Regions from separate parts of the Homo sapiens genome. Here all the other regions are linked to region 3. The links are contacts of gene promoters, found by promoter capture Hi-C in human tissues and cell types (Jung and others, 2019). All regions are on one chromosome and are shown on one strand. Each heading gives the region's core, a stretch centred on a gene start or on the middle of the fragment in contact. The rest is flanking DNA. Distances are from core to core; before and after follow the strand shown.

Evidence for each region. Contacts are between HindIII fragments. The study calls those that stand out against the background at their distance.
Region 1: a fragment that was not itself captured here is called in contact with the fragment with the promoter of ZBTB21 in region 3 in 1 of the 25 tissues and cell types used here (hippocampus).
Region 2: a contact is called between a fragment that was not itself captured here and the fragment with the promoter of ZBTB21 in region 3, in 1 of the 25 tissues and cell types used here (spleen).

Annotation. Positions count from the first base shown.
Region 1 is chr21:42,526,966-42,530,643 of GRCh38, forward strand. The region is part of intron 3 of SLC37A1 (solute carrier family 37 member 1); the gene reads left to right. It overlaps LOC107987299 (a long non-coding RNA gene), which reads right to left. Exons shown (of 2, transcript XR_007067878.1): 2 at 1-1,860. Among named protein-coding and RNA genes, the nearest start is that of SLC37A1, 15 kb to the left of the region's middle. The HindIII fragment of the contact is 7,112 bases long and covers 1-3,678 here.
Region 2 is chr21:42,592,005-42,595,596 of GRCh38, forward strand. No RefSeq gene overlaps it. Among named protein-coding and RNA genes, the nearest start is that of LINC01671, 21 kb to the right of the region's middle. RefSeq lists enhancers at 1-2,208, 1-196. The HindIII fragment of the contact is 3,564 bases long and covers 1-3,240 here.
Region 3 is chr21:42,009,110-42,012,972 of GRCh38, forward strand. ZBTB21 (zinc finger and BTB domain containing 21) reads right to left here and starts at 1,251. Exons shown (of 3, transcript NM_001098402.2): 1 at 1,143-1,251. ZNF295-AS1 (ZNF295 antisense RNA 1) reads left to right here and starts at 85. Exons shown (of 2, transcript NR_119384.1): 1 at 85-475. RefSeq lists silencers at 424-533, 574-883, 1,324-2,063. The HindIII fragment of the contact is 7,901 bases long and covers 1-3,863 here.

The DNA of each region.
Region 1 (3,678 bases), core at 302-2,801, 520 kb after region 3:
TGGTTAGAGAAATATACAAACAGCTCAAGAAAATGGTAAATTATAAAGATGGAAGTGACTATTGAAGAGACTTGGTGAGCGTGTTGGAGTTGAAGGATCTGGTGTAGTTGGGGAGCTTGTGTGGGGTTTCAGGATTGACCTAGAAAGGTTGGGTGTGGATTGTAGGGGAAGAAAAACAGCTTTACAGGTGGGAGAACTGCCTTGAGTGCTACGTGCAGGGATGGGCATCTCCATGAAGGCACCACCTGTTGGGCTGGGGGGCTGTTGGGGCAGATGTAGCGTGTAAGGTGGGCTGGCCTTTGGGGGAATCTTTGTCAGGCCACAGCTGTTGGGGTCCACCTGATGACTATGAGGGCCCCTGTGAGCCAGGAGCAAGTGGGAGCCCTGTCCCGGTCCCTCTCCCGGCTTTCCTGGTGGTCCATCTCAAAGCCCCCGCCCCTGACTCTCGTGTGTAGTGGTGTCCAGGCCACTCAAGACTTAGGGCTTCTGAGGAGGCGGCGTCAGGGTCAGCTCTTAGTTCAGTGTCATAAGTAACAATATAAATAACTGCCGCTTACAGAGCCCTGGGGTATGACAAACTGCCACATACATTACCCCTGTGATCCTCACAGCAACCCTGCGAGTGCCCCTGTGAGGAAATTGAGGCTCGGGTCTTCGTTCCCCAGGCAGGGCTGCCACACACTCGAGAATTCCCTGTGGGTCAGGCTGCCTCCAGGGCCCCTACTCATCCTCTCTGTGCCTCAGGGTTTGTCCGGGTTTAATTACCTGAGTACAGTCCCAGCATCACCCTCAGAGCCTCCTAAACGCACAGATTTCCTGACCTAGCAGCTGCGATGTGCCTGGGCATGGATTGGCTTGACGCTGAATCCTGTGGGTTTCTTTACCTTTCAAGATAGATCAGAACATCACACCACATCAAAACTAAACTTTATAGTGCCTTCTGAAGCGCCCGTGTGCTTGAGCTCATGATATAAATGGCATCAACGAAACTGAAAGTAGTAGTGATTCTGTTGACCCACAAAACAGTTGAGTGATTATTTATAGCCTGCATTTCCCAGAATATTGTAAGCAAAACCAAAGCAAAATGTATTTGCTTACTTGAAATTGAACCAGAGGCTGTGAATTAGAAAGTGAGTCTTATTCTGTTATGTCATTTATAGAATGACACGGCACACCAGGTCACATTTAAGTTAGTTAAATGGAATGTTTAGACTTACCTTTGATCACTGCTGATTAATTGTATTTTTCTCGATGATGATGATAAAACCAGGGCTGGGAGGATAGTGGTGTTATAAGTGCAACCCTGTCCCTTCTATCTGCTGCTCCAGCTGTGGCCTAGCCTCAGGACTCAAGGCAAGCGTCTGCCCAAGCTGGTAGACAGGTGAGTCTGACTCCCAGCAGAGATCTTAGTGCGAGCTCTTTTCACCTGGACTGGGCCAGAAAAGAAACCTGAAAGCAGAGGCTTCCCGGAGAAGCTTAAACTGCAGGGGTCCCTGGAGCCAGGGGGATGGCAGCATTGATTTGAATGTGAGTGTGCCCACCCCTCTCTGGACACACAGGACTTAAAAGGAGAAAACTGGCTAGGCGCAGTGGCTCACGCCTGTAATCCCAGCACTTTGGGAGGCCGAGGTGGGCGGATCACCTGAGGTCAGGAGTTCAAGACCAAACTGGCCAACATAGTGAAACCCTATCTATACTAAAAATACAAAAAAAATTAACCAGGCATGGTGACAGGCGCCTGTAATCCCAGCTACTGGGGAGGCTGAGGCAGGAGAATAGCTTGAATCCGGGAGGCGAAGTTTGCAGTGAGCCGAGAGCGCACCATTGCCCTCCAGCCTGGGCGACAAAGTGAAACTCCATCTAAAAAAAAATGAAATAAAATAATCCTCAGTGGCAGACAGAAAACAAAGTCTGAAAAGCTGGAAGTATGTACTATGGGTGGGAAACTTGTTATTTGGAAAGTTCCAATTCTCCCAGTGTTAATATTTAAATAAAATGCAACTCCAGTGAAAATCTTAGCAGGGTTTTTTTTAATTGAATAAAATAATCTTAAAGTTTGTATGAAAGAATGTCCAGGAATTATCAAGAAAAGTGTAAAGATAACATTTTATGATATGAAAATATGCAAAAGATTAACATATTTTAATACCATAATCAAATTATGATATTACATGAGAATAGACAAAAAAGTCAGTAGAATAGATTAGAAAATATGGAATATTTGACAGAGCTTATTTAATAAATTTAATAAATGGTGTCGGCACAACTGGTTATTCGTCAGGAAGAAATAAATGTTGAATCCCTATTTTATAAAAACAAATGGCCCGGGCACTGTGGCTCACACCTGTAATCCCAGCACTTTGGGAGGCCGAGGCAGGTGGATTACCTGAGGTCAGCAGTTCGAGACCAGCCTGACCATCTCTACTAAATGTACAAAAGTGAGCTGGGCATGGTGGCGGGCACCTGTAATCCCAGCTACTTGGGAGACTGACGCATGAGAATCGCTTGAACCTGGGAGGCGAATGTTGCAGTGAGCCGAGACCACACCACCGCACTCCAGCCTGGGTGACATGAGTGAGACTCCATCTCAAAAAAGTAAAATAAAATAAATGGATTAAAGACATGAATGTAAAATACAAAAAGTACAAATCCAAGAAGAAAATTATGTTTATCGTAGGAGTGAGTGTGAAGTTAGGAAACCCAAAGAAACAACGGGCAAGGGGGATGAACAAGCAGTTTACAGACACGGAATTCAGATCGCCAGGAAATATGTGAATGGTGTTCGAGTCTGCCGGTATTCCATATGCAAATTAAGGCAACACTGTGCTCAGTGGCTGGCACAGCATTGCCCAGGGCAGTAAGCGCTATTCACTGGTCGTGAGGGGAGAGGAGTTTTCATGCGTTCTTGATGGGATGTCAAGCGTTAGCGCCTTTTGGTGACACCCAGTGAAATAAAAAACACTACAGCCTTCAGACATACTTCTGGGAATTTCACCCTAAAAATAAAAGCACCTTACTTAGGAATATCTTCATAAGCATCTTTATGGCAGCTTTGTAGTGACCAAAAAAAGCAAAAAGGAAAAAAAAACAATGCTGGATATCAAGGGAACCTAATAAGTAGGTAAAAGTTTGAATAAATTATCACAAGTCCGTATTATGAAATGTGCAGGTCCCTAAAAGAATTCATCACAGGCAAACCAGTTGACTCAGAAACATTTCCAGGAGGTACTTTGAGTAAGAAGTTAACATGTGCATAAGGATGTATAGAATGATTCCATTTTTGAGAAGTAAACAATGACCAAGAAGCTCCTCCATCTATTTCTGTATCCTTCATGAGTGGAGCATTTGCGTGTCTGTCCCTGAGTGTGTATAATGCATTTCACGTGGCACCTGTGACTCATCGCAGGAGGCTGGCCGTGGGCAGGTGCTGTTGTCTGTGGGGGAGAGCCTGGCTGGTCGCTCCTACTTTTGGTACCAAAACTGTAATTGCTCTTCCAGGACTTAGATAATGCTTTGGAGAATTCTTGTAGCCTTATAAAAGGAATGTGAAGGACTGGTTAGAATCAGTGCACCCACACAGCCTAATGAGCCACGTAAAGTTGACTAGACAGATCGTCAAATGCAGATGATACACACACACACACACACACACACACACACACACACACACACACACAC
Region 2 (3,592 bases), core at 209-2,708, 580 kb after region 3:
TTTTAACACATTTTCCCAAGAGTTGCTGCAGCCACTCTGTGTGAGCCCCGCATCCTACCACAGCCTTAGGGACAGCAAGGTCACCAGCTCTAGAAGCTCTGCCTTCAGAACGGCCCACTCTGCAGCCAGCCCCATGAAGACACCTCTTGGGTGCCTGGTGTTGTAAAATTTACCCAAATCCAGAGCCATGATTCCAAACCTGATGGTAGAAGAGCAGCATTCATTTGCTTGTTCATTCATTCAGCACACTCGTATTGCCAAGCCCTGAGAATAAGCGCAGGGATACGGTAATAAACCGGGAGAGCCAAATCGGCCCCATGGAGTCGAGTCTAGGGGAAGCAATAGACGACTAACAAAGGAACAGTAAACAGTCTGGGGCAGGAGCGGGGGGTGTATGATTGTGTATTGACGGTCGTCTTCGAGGATGGGATAAGGGTGTGATGGAATGAACCCTGCAGATCTAAGGAAAGGCCATTCCAGACCCTAGAGGAGGTCCAGGAAGGAAGTTCAGGAGCACAGGCCACAGAGGGTCACTGATTTCACCAATTTCACCAGGATCAGGGTTTTCCATACCACTAAGGCTGGAGGGACAAGGGACAGGAGCGTGAAAGGAGAGGCGAGGCTGGTGCCCCAGGAAACCCAAGCCTGGTCTCAGGCTGGTGAAGAGGTGGATGATGGAGCGAGTGGGGAATGAGTGGTCCCAGTGGCCGGAAAGCTTGCTGGGGGCTGATCTGGACAGATGGGAGGTGGGTGAGGTCCTGGGAGCGGAGGTTCTGGAGACCGGCGGGCATGGCCAATGATGAGCCCTAGGACGTGACTCTCACAATGGGGACTGAAGGGGTTGGAGGGAGGTGCCGTTGGAAAATTGCAGTAAGTGAGAAGAGTCAGAAATGGGAGGACCAGAGGGAAAGCCACTTCTCAGAGAAGAGTAACAGGTTCAACTTTGGTCCAATAATCACAATTTAGAGCTGACAGCAGCTTCAGAGGCCATGTGACAGATAAGGAAACTAAGGCCCCAAAAGCAGCCGTGGAGACCAGACCCAGGGGTTCCGGCCACGGCTCTGTGCCTTTTGTAAAGGCAGCCTATGTCTGCACTCACCTGTGCTCTGGCCCAGGCCGGCCCTGCACTTCGATTGCCGGGAGCCCTGCACGCGGAACTGTGTCTGCAGAAGCTCCTTTTGGCACCTGGGAGGGCACCTCTCATCAGTACTCCAGGACCTCGGCCATCGCCACGGACCGCAGGGTGAACGCTGGGTGGGCTGTACCATGGCCTCGGCCACCGCCTGCAGATCCAGGCTCCCTGCAGCCTGCTGGGCTGGTGGCCTCAGGGGACCGGTGAGCTGCGTCTGCCTGGGCTCCCGAAAGGCCGCTCCCAGATTTTGATTTTGCTTTGTTACCTAGAACCCAGGCCCTCTGTTGCCACAAGAGGGCCCCCCAGCCCCGGCTCACTGAGGCCCTCCCCGTGGAGGAGCGTATCCTGTCCGGTCCGCAGCTCAAATATCCAGAGATCGGGAGACCCCGGCCCTGGCCCCACCCCCGCCCCAGCTGGGCCACACTGCCCCCTCCACCACACCCCGGCAAGCCCCTCCTGGGGCTGCACTCAGTCCTGGGTGTCAGAGGGTCCTCTGGCTTCGCTTGTCACATTTAATGACAAATCAGAAATCAAATGTATCCAGAGCCAGCCTGGGCTTTAGGATAGAAGGGGAGGGCAGGAGTGGGGGCTCCGGGGACAGGGGCTGGCCGAGGAGGGAGGATGGGGGCAAGAGGATATTCGTGGGGCACCCACTCCCCACCCATCCGCCACCCCCTCCTCCCAGGGCTCCTTCTGAGGCCTCGCTGTCCCCGCCTTTTAGTAAAAAGTGGAGAAACAGCCTCACAGGGTGACCTGCTTCAGCTCCCAAAGCCATGCTGTGGCTGACCAGGGTCAGGACCCAGGTACCAGGTCCACGGCTCAGGGGTGGGAGCCAAGCCTCACTCGACTCCACGCTCAGGGCCGGGACCCAGGCCACAAGCCCGACCTTTGTCCTTTCCTCGAGCTTGCTGGGAAGCCTAGACTCACCCAAATCCAACCCAAAAAAGGCTGCAACAAACCAGCCTTGCTTGTGATTTCGTTTTATGATTTTCTTTTCACATTTTCTTACTATGGGAATTCTCATGGGTACATAAAAATAGACAGCTTAATATGCACCATATCCCATCCCTCAGCCTTGACAGTTGTCAACAGCCTGCCTTTCCTGCTTCAAATCTACCATGTAAGCCTTCATTTTATCTCATATGGTTTGCTTTTTTTTTTTTTTTTTTTTTTTTGAGCTGGTGTCTCACTCTGTTACCCAGGCTGGAGTGCAGTGGCGCCATCTCGGCTCACTGCAACCTCTGCCTCCCAGGTTCAAGCGATTCTCCTGCCTCAGCCTCCCGAGCAGCTGGGACTACAGGCTCACACCGCCATGTCTGGCTAATTTTTGTATTTTTGTAGAGATGGGGTTTCATGATGTTGGCTTCACAATGTTGGCCAGGCTGGTCTCAAACTCCTGGACTCAAGTAATCTGCCTGCCTCAGCCTCCCGAAGTGCTGGGATTACAGGCGTGAGCCACCATGCCCAGCCTTATTACGTATTTTTAAGCAAATTATTGGATCATACCATTGCACCCAAACAATGCTGCCGTGTTACACAGCCATTTGTCCAGCCTCCTGTTCTATGGATGAAGATCACCAGGGTTCTCCACTTTCCAGACGAACGAAGCCACTGACGACCCGACAGGCCACGTGACTTGGCACAGCGCAGCCCTCAGGATCAGGGTCCTATCAGAGCCCTCTGGGGATGCTGGTTGTGCCTGGTGGCATTGCAGGAGGGAACGAGCCCTGCCTGGACTGTCCCCAGGTGATCACACACATGCCACCGGGATGAGGCAGGAGGGTGGACCCTTGTGAGAGGAACAAGCCACGGGTGCTCTGTCCCCTGGCATCCCCTCAGCAGCAGGACTCTAAATCCCCTCGCCTCCTACTGAAGGAGGAGAGAAATGAGTAAGAAATTGAAGTTACCACTAACGTTATTTTTAGAAACTGCAGTACGAAATGAAAAAAAAATGTCTCCAGACTGCCGAGGAAACGAGAAATACATGCCTCCAAATTATATGAAAGGCAAGAAAACCACCCAAGTGCCAGTGACTCACAGGAGCTGGGGTGGGTTCAATCAGGATAGGGAACTCCTGGAGGGCCTTCAACTGGGCGGCAAGTTGATGGCACTGCTGTCACCCTGCAGGAAAGACCCGGCTCTCTTCCAAAGCCTCCCCAGCCATTTGCAAGCTCAGCGTGGGAAGCAGGCTGGGCTGAGCACGTCCAGGGCTCCCAAACTACGCTGGAGCCAAAATCCAGGACTCCCGCCTGAATTGGGATCCTTGGAGCGGGGTGCTGGAGGGAATGCTGCGGCCTCTCAGGTCTGTGACCGCGTCCACGCCAAGGCTTGCTGCATGCAACCCGTAAGCTGAGAGTTGCCACCATCCAGACACCACCCTGTGCAGCGGAGTGGGGCAGGGCAGGACTGAGAGACGGTGTCTGCCCTCCAGACCACCTTGCAGGCCCATGCTGTGGGGCT
Region 3 (3,863 bases), core at 1-2,500:
CAGGGCTGTGAGCGCTTGCACGAAAGGAAAAACCCCAGGCCGTGTGAAGTCTAACTTTCCCCGTCCTCTCGGTCAGGCAATCCCACCGGGGCACCTGTCTAAAAACACCCCGCCTCCGAACGCGCGCTCTTGCGGAATTCTCCCGAACCGCAGAGCCCTCGTGGCTGGGACCGCATAGCAACCGGGGGCAGAGTGCGAGCCCCCAGCGGTGTGCTGGGATGGAAAAGCAGGAGCCGCTGAGGATGGACTACGGGGCGTGTTCCCGAAAAGCCGGGAAGAGATGTGGCGGGGCTGCCGCGGGCGTCTCTAAGGCCGGCACGGGTGGCGTCTTGACTCCCTGCCCCTCCAGCCGCGGACCTCGGACGGGGGGAAGGGGGCTCCTCCAAGCGGGGAGACGGTCGCCGGCCGAGCAGCAGGGCTCCTGGCCGGCGGAGGGTGCTATGCTCTGCGGGACCGCCGGGAAGTCCCAGACAAGGTCTGCGGGGGCTCTGGAGGAAAAAAAACGCGCTGTGAGGTCCAGGCGTCCGCGGGAGGGGCCGGGGGCGGGGAGGGAGCGTCCAGCGGGCACCGAGCGGTCACGCTCCGGCCACCGGGCCGAGGACGGGGCGGCGGGGCTAGGTCCCGGACCGTGAAGGGAGCGGCGGGTCGCGGCAGGTGCGGGGTCCCCAAGGCCGCCGGCCAGCTTCCGCGCACACCCCGCGGCCCGGGCCGCCGGCCCCCAACCCCTGCCCGGAACAGGAGAACGCGCCCTTCTCCACGAGGCGTTTCAACCGCTCCGCGCGAGGGGCGCGCGCCTGGGCCAGGCGTGTCCCCTACCCCAGGGGCAGCTCGGCCAGGGTGAAGAGTGAAGCCCGTGAGGGAATGGAGCATGCGCATTCGCGAGGGCGAGGCCAAGTGCTGGCAGGGAGCGTGCGCAGTGTGAAGGTACAATCGGCTACGTGGGAACCCGGGACATGCTCGGTGAGCGCCCAGGTCCCGCGCACGCGCAGAAGCGCTCGGAGCCCGCAACCCGCTGGTGGAGAAAAAAGAGGAGAGAAATCACCTCAGAGTTACGTCAGGAAAGGCCGCGTTTTGCGGGGAGGCTGTAGCCTCCCAAGGAGCCCCGCAGTTCTCCTAGAGCTAGGGGCGTGACAGTTACTCACCGGTCTTCAGTCTCGAGGCAGACGCCGGGCCCCTTTCCGCTCACACTCGGCTCGCGCGCGCCGCAGCCGCCGCTGCCGCTGTGATTCCATCCATCTTGAATTTGACGTCATCCCACACCAGGGATGAGGTCATCGCAGGCATCGCTCGTCACGTGCGCGGCACTCTGATTGGGCGCCGGGCGCCGGAGGGCGGGGCGGGGGGGGGGCCTCGCGGCGCAGGGGGACGGGGGAGGGCGGGCCTGCCCGGAGCCGCGCGCCGAACGGACGCTGCCGCGCTGCAAGCCCGCGCTCTCGGTCCATGAGGGGAGCCTGCGGCGGCCGTTAGGGGAGGCGGCCGGGCTGGGGGCCACGGCGAGGAGGCTGAGCGCCCCGGCCGGGTGGAGTCCGTCGCGGCGAGGAGCGCGCCGATTCTCAGGGGACTTTGCCGCCTGCCGGAGGCGCCCTTGCTGCGGGGTCGCCCCGGGTCATTCGGCCGCGGTCCTGCCCAGCTGGGCCGCCAGTAGTCCCCGCTTCCGGCGCGGCGGGATGCGTGGCGCGAGCGCTTAGTCCCTCGGAGGGGAGGACGCGCTCCCGTTCACCGGTGGACGGCGGGCGACTCCCCGAGCCGACGACCCCGACAGCGACGGGAGCGACGCGCGGCTTTCTGACGGGCGCGGGCGGCGAGCGGGGCCCTGCGGTCCTCGGGTCGGCGGCAGACGCTCCCGGCCCGCGAGGAAAGCCCGCGGGAGGCGGCTCCTGCCGCTCGCTAGTCGCTCAGAGCGCTTCCATTTCCTCCTCCCGACGCAACCTGGCCACCTGGCCCCTGGGCGGGGACCCGGCGGCCGCGGCCAGGGCGTCCGGGCTCGTTCGCCGCGCAGATGGGGGTCGGTCCTGACCCCCGCCGGGGCGTCCACAGCGGCCCGCAGGCAGCCGGAGACTTCGCATAGTGCCCGGCTCATCGGAGGGCTGTGATCTTTTTTTTTTTTGCAGAAATATTACAACTCCACTGATGAGAAAACTCACTTCGCTTTCAGTCAAAACCAGAAATTAGATAACAGAAATGCCACACTGTCAACACCGACCGGGAGGAAAGCCTCGCTGGCGGAGACCGCTCAAGGGAGCCCTCCGCGCGTTCTCCCAGCCCGGGTCGCAGGTGGAGGGGGAGTGCCTCCTGCAGGGACGGTTCTCCCGCAGACACTCAAACTCCGGGATGTAAAACCCCTGTTAATAATTGTCAGGGGTCTGTTAATTGCCAAATACAGTTTTTGAAAGTTGTATGCACTAGGTAAAATAATTTATGTAATGTTTGGAAGTATGTGAAAGACAGACATTAGATTGATACAAATTAAAAATTTGTTGCCAAATTAACAGCTCTGTTGTAGATTATTAGTTTGACTAATTTTAAGAGGACTCTTAGTCTTACATAAAGAATCTTGCACCTAAAAATTTTCTCCTACAACTTTAAAACACTTTAAATTTTTTTTTTTTTTTCCTGAGATGGAGTCTCTGTCAGTCCCAGGCTGGAGTGCAGTGGCATGATCTCAGCTCACTGCAGCCTCCACTCCCTGGCTCAAGCCATCCTCCCGTCTCAGCCTCGGCAGTAGCTGGGACTATAGGTGCATCCGTCACACCTAGCTGATTTTTGTATTTTTGGTAGAGATGGAGTTTCACCATGTTGCTCAGGCTGGTTTCAAACTCCTGGTCTGAAGCAATCCACCCGCCTCAGCCTCCCAATGTGCTTGGATAACAGGTGTGAGCCACCATGCCCAGCCTAAAGAGTGTCTGTATTTTGAACTGTATGGTGGAAAAGCACAAAGTGACTGTTCTGAAGGTAGAAGGCAACAGTGATTATAAGTCTTAAAAGAACCTTGAGTTTTAGGTTCCCCTGTGATTAGGCTGGGGGAGTGTGTGCTGTTATCCTAGTTTTATAGGTGAGAAAACTAGTACTGGCTTTACCGCATGCTGGAAGCAGCCTCCCTTGAGCGATCCCTTTCTAGCCACCTGCTTAGCTGTTTTTTTGTTTTGTTTTGTTTTTTGTTTTTTCAACCTTCCTCAGGACGATACACATTGGTGTCTCTGCTTTGAGCTATATGATCAGGCTTTTGGCCTCACCATTTCACTGGAATTGACCTGACTGCCAAATCTGGCAGAAACCGTTGCATCTTTCAGTTGCTCTCTTTGATTTGTGACACGCTTCCAATTGCTTCAGCAGTGATTGCTTCAGTTACGCCTCATTCCCTGGATTTCCCACCTCTTGGCTGACTGCTCCTCCTGGGCCGGCTGTGTTGGCCCTTCTGCCCCTGCCCATGCTCGCACTGGGTTTCTTGGCACACACACCCTATGCAGTCTCATCCATGCTTGGAACATATGCCCAGTTGCTGGAGCCAGGAATGTGGGCACCATGGTGGGCTCCTCCCTCACTTCCAGTATTGGGTCTATCCCCAAGTCCTGTCCGTCCGACCTCCTCAGTGTTTCTCTGGTAACGTAACCGCTTAACTGCTCTCCCAGCCTCCAGGTTTCCTCCTTTAATCCACTCTCACATTACAGCCAAAGCGATTTTTCTAAACAGCAAAAGGGATCATGCCACTCCCTTGCATAGGGTTTAATGGCTCTCCATTGCCTAGGTGAGAGTTCAAACCACAACGCACAAGTGCCTGAGGACTTGGCCCAGCCTCTCCCATCTTTCCCCCACCTCCACTCTGACATGCAGGCCTCTAAACTAGTCTTGCTCTGTCTCTTGCC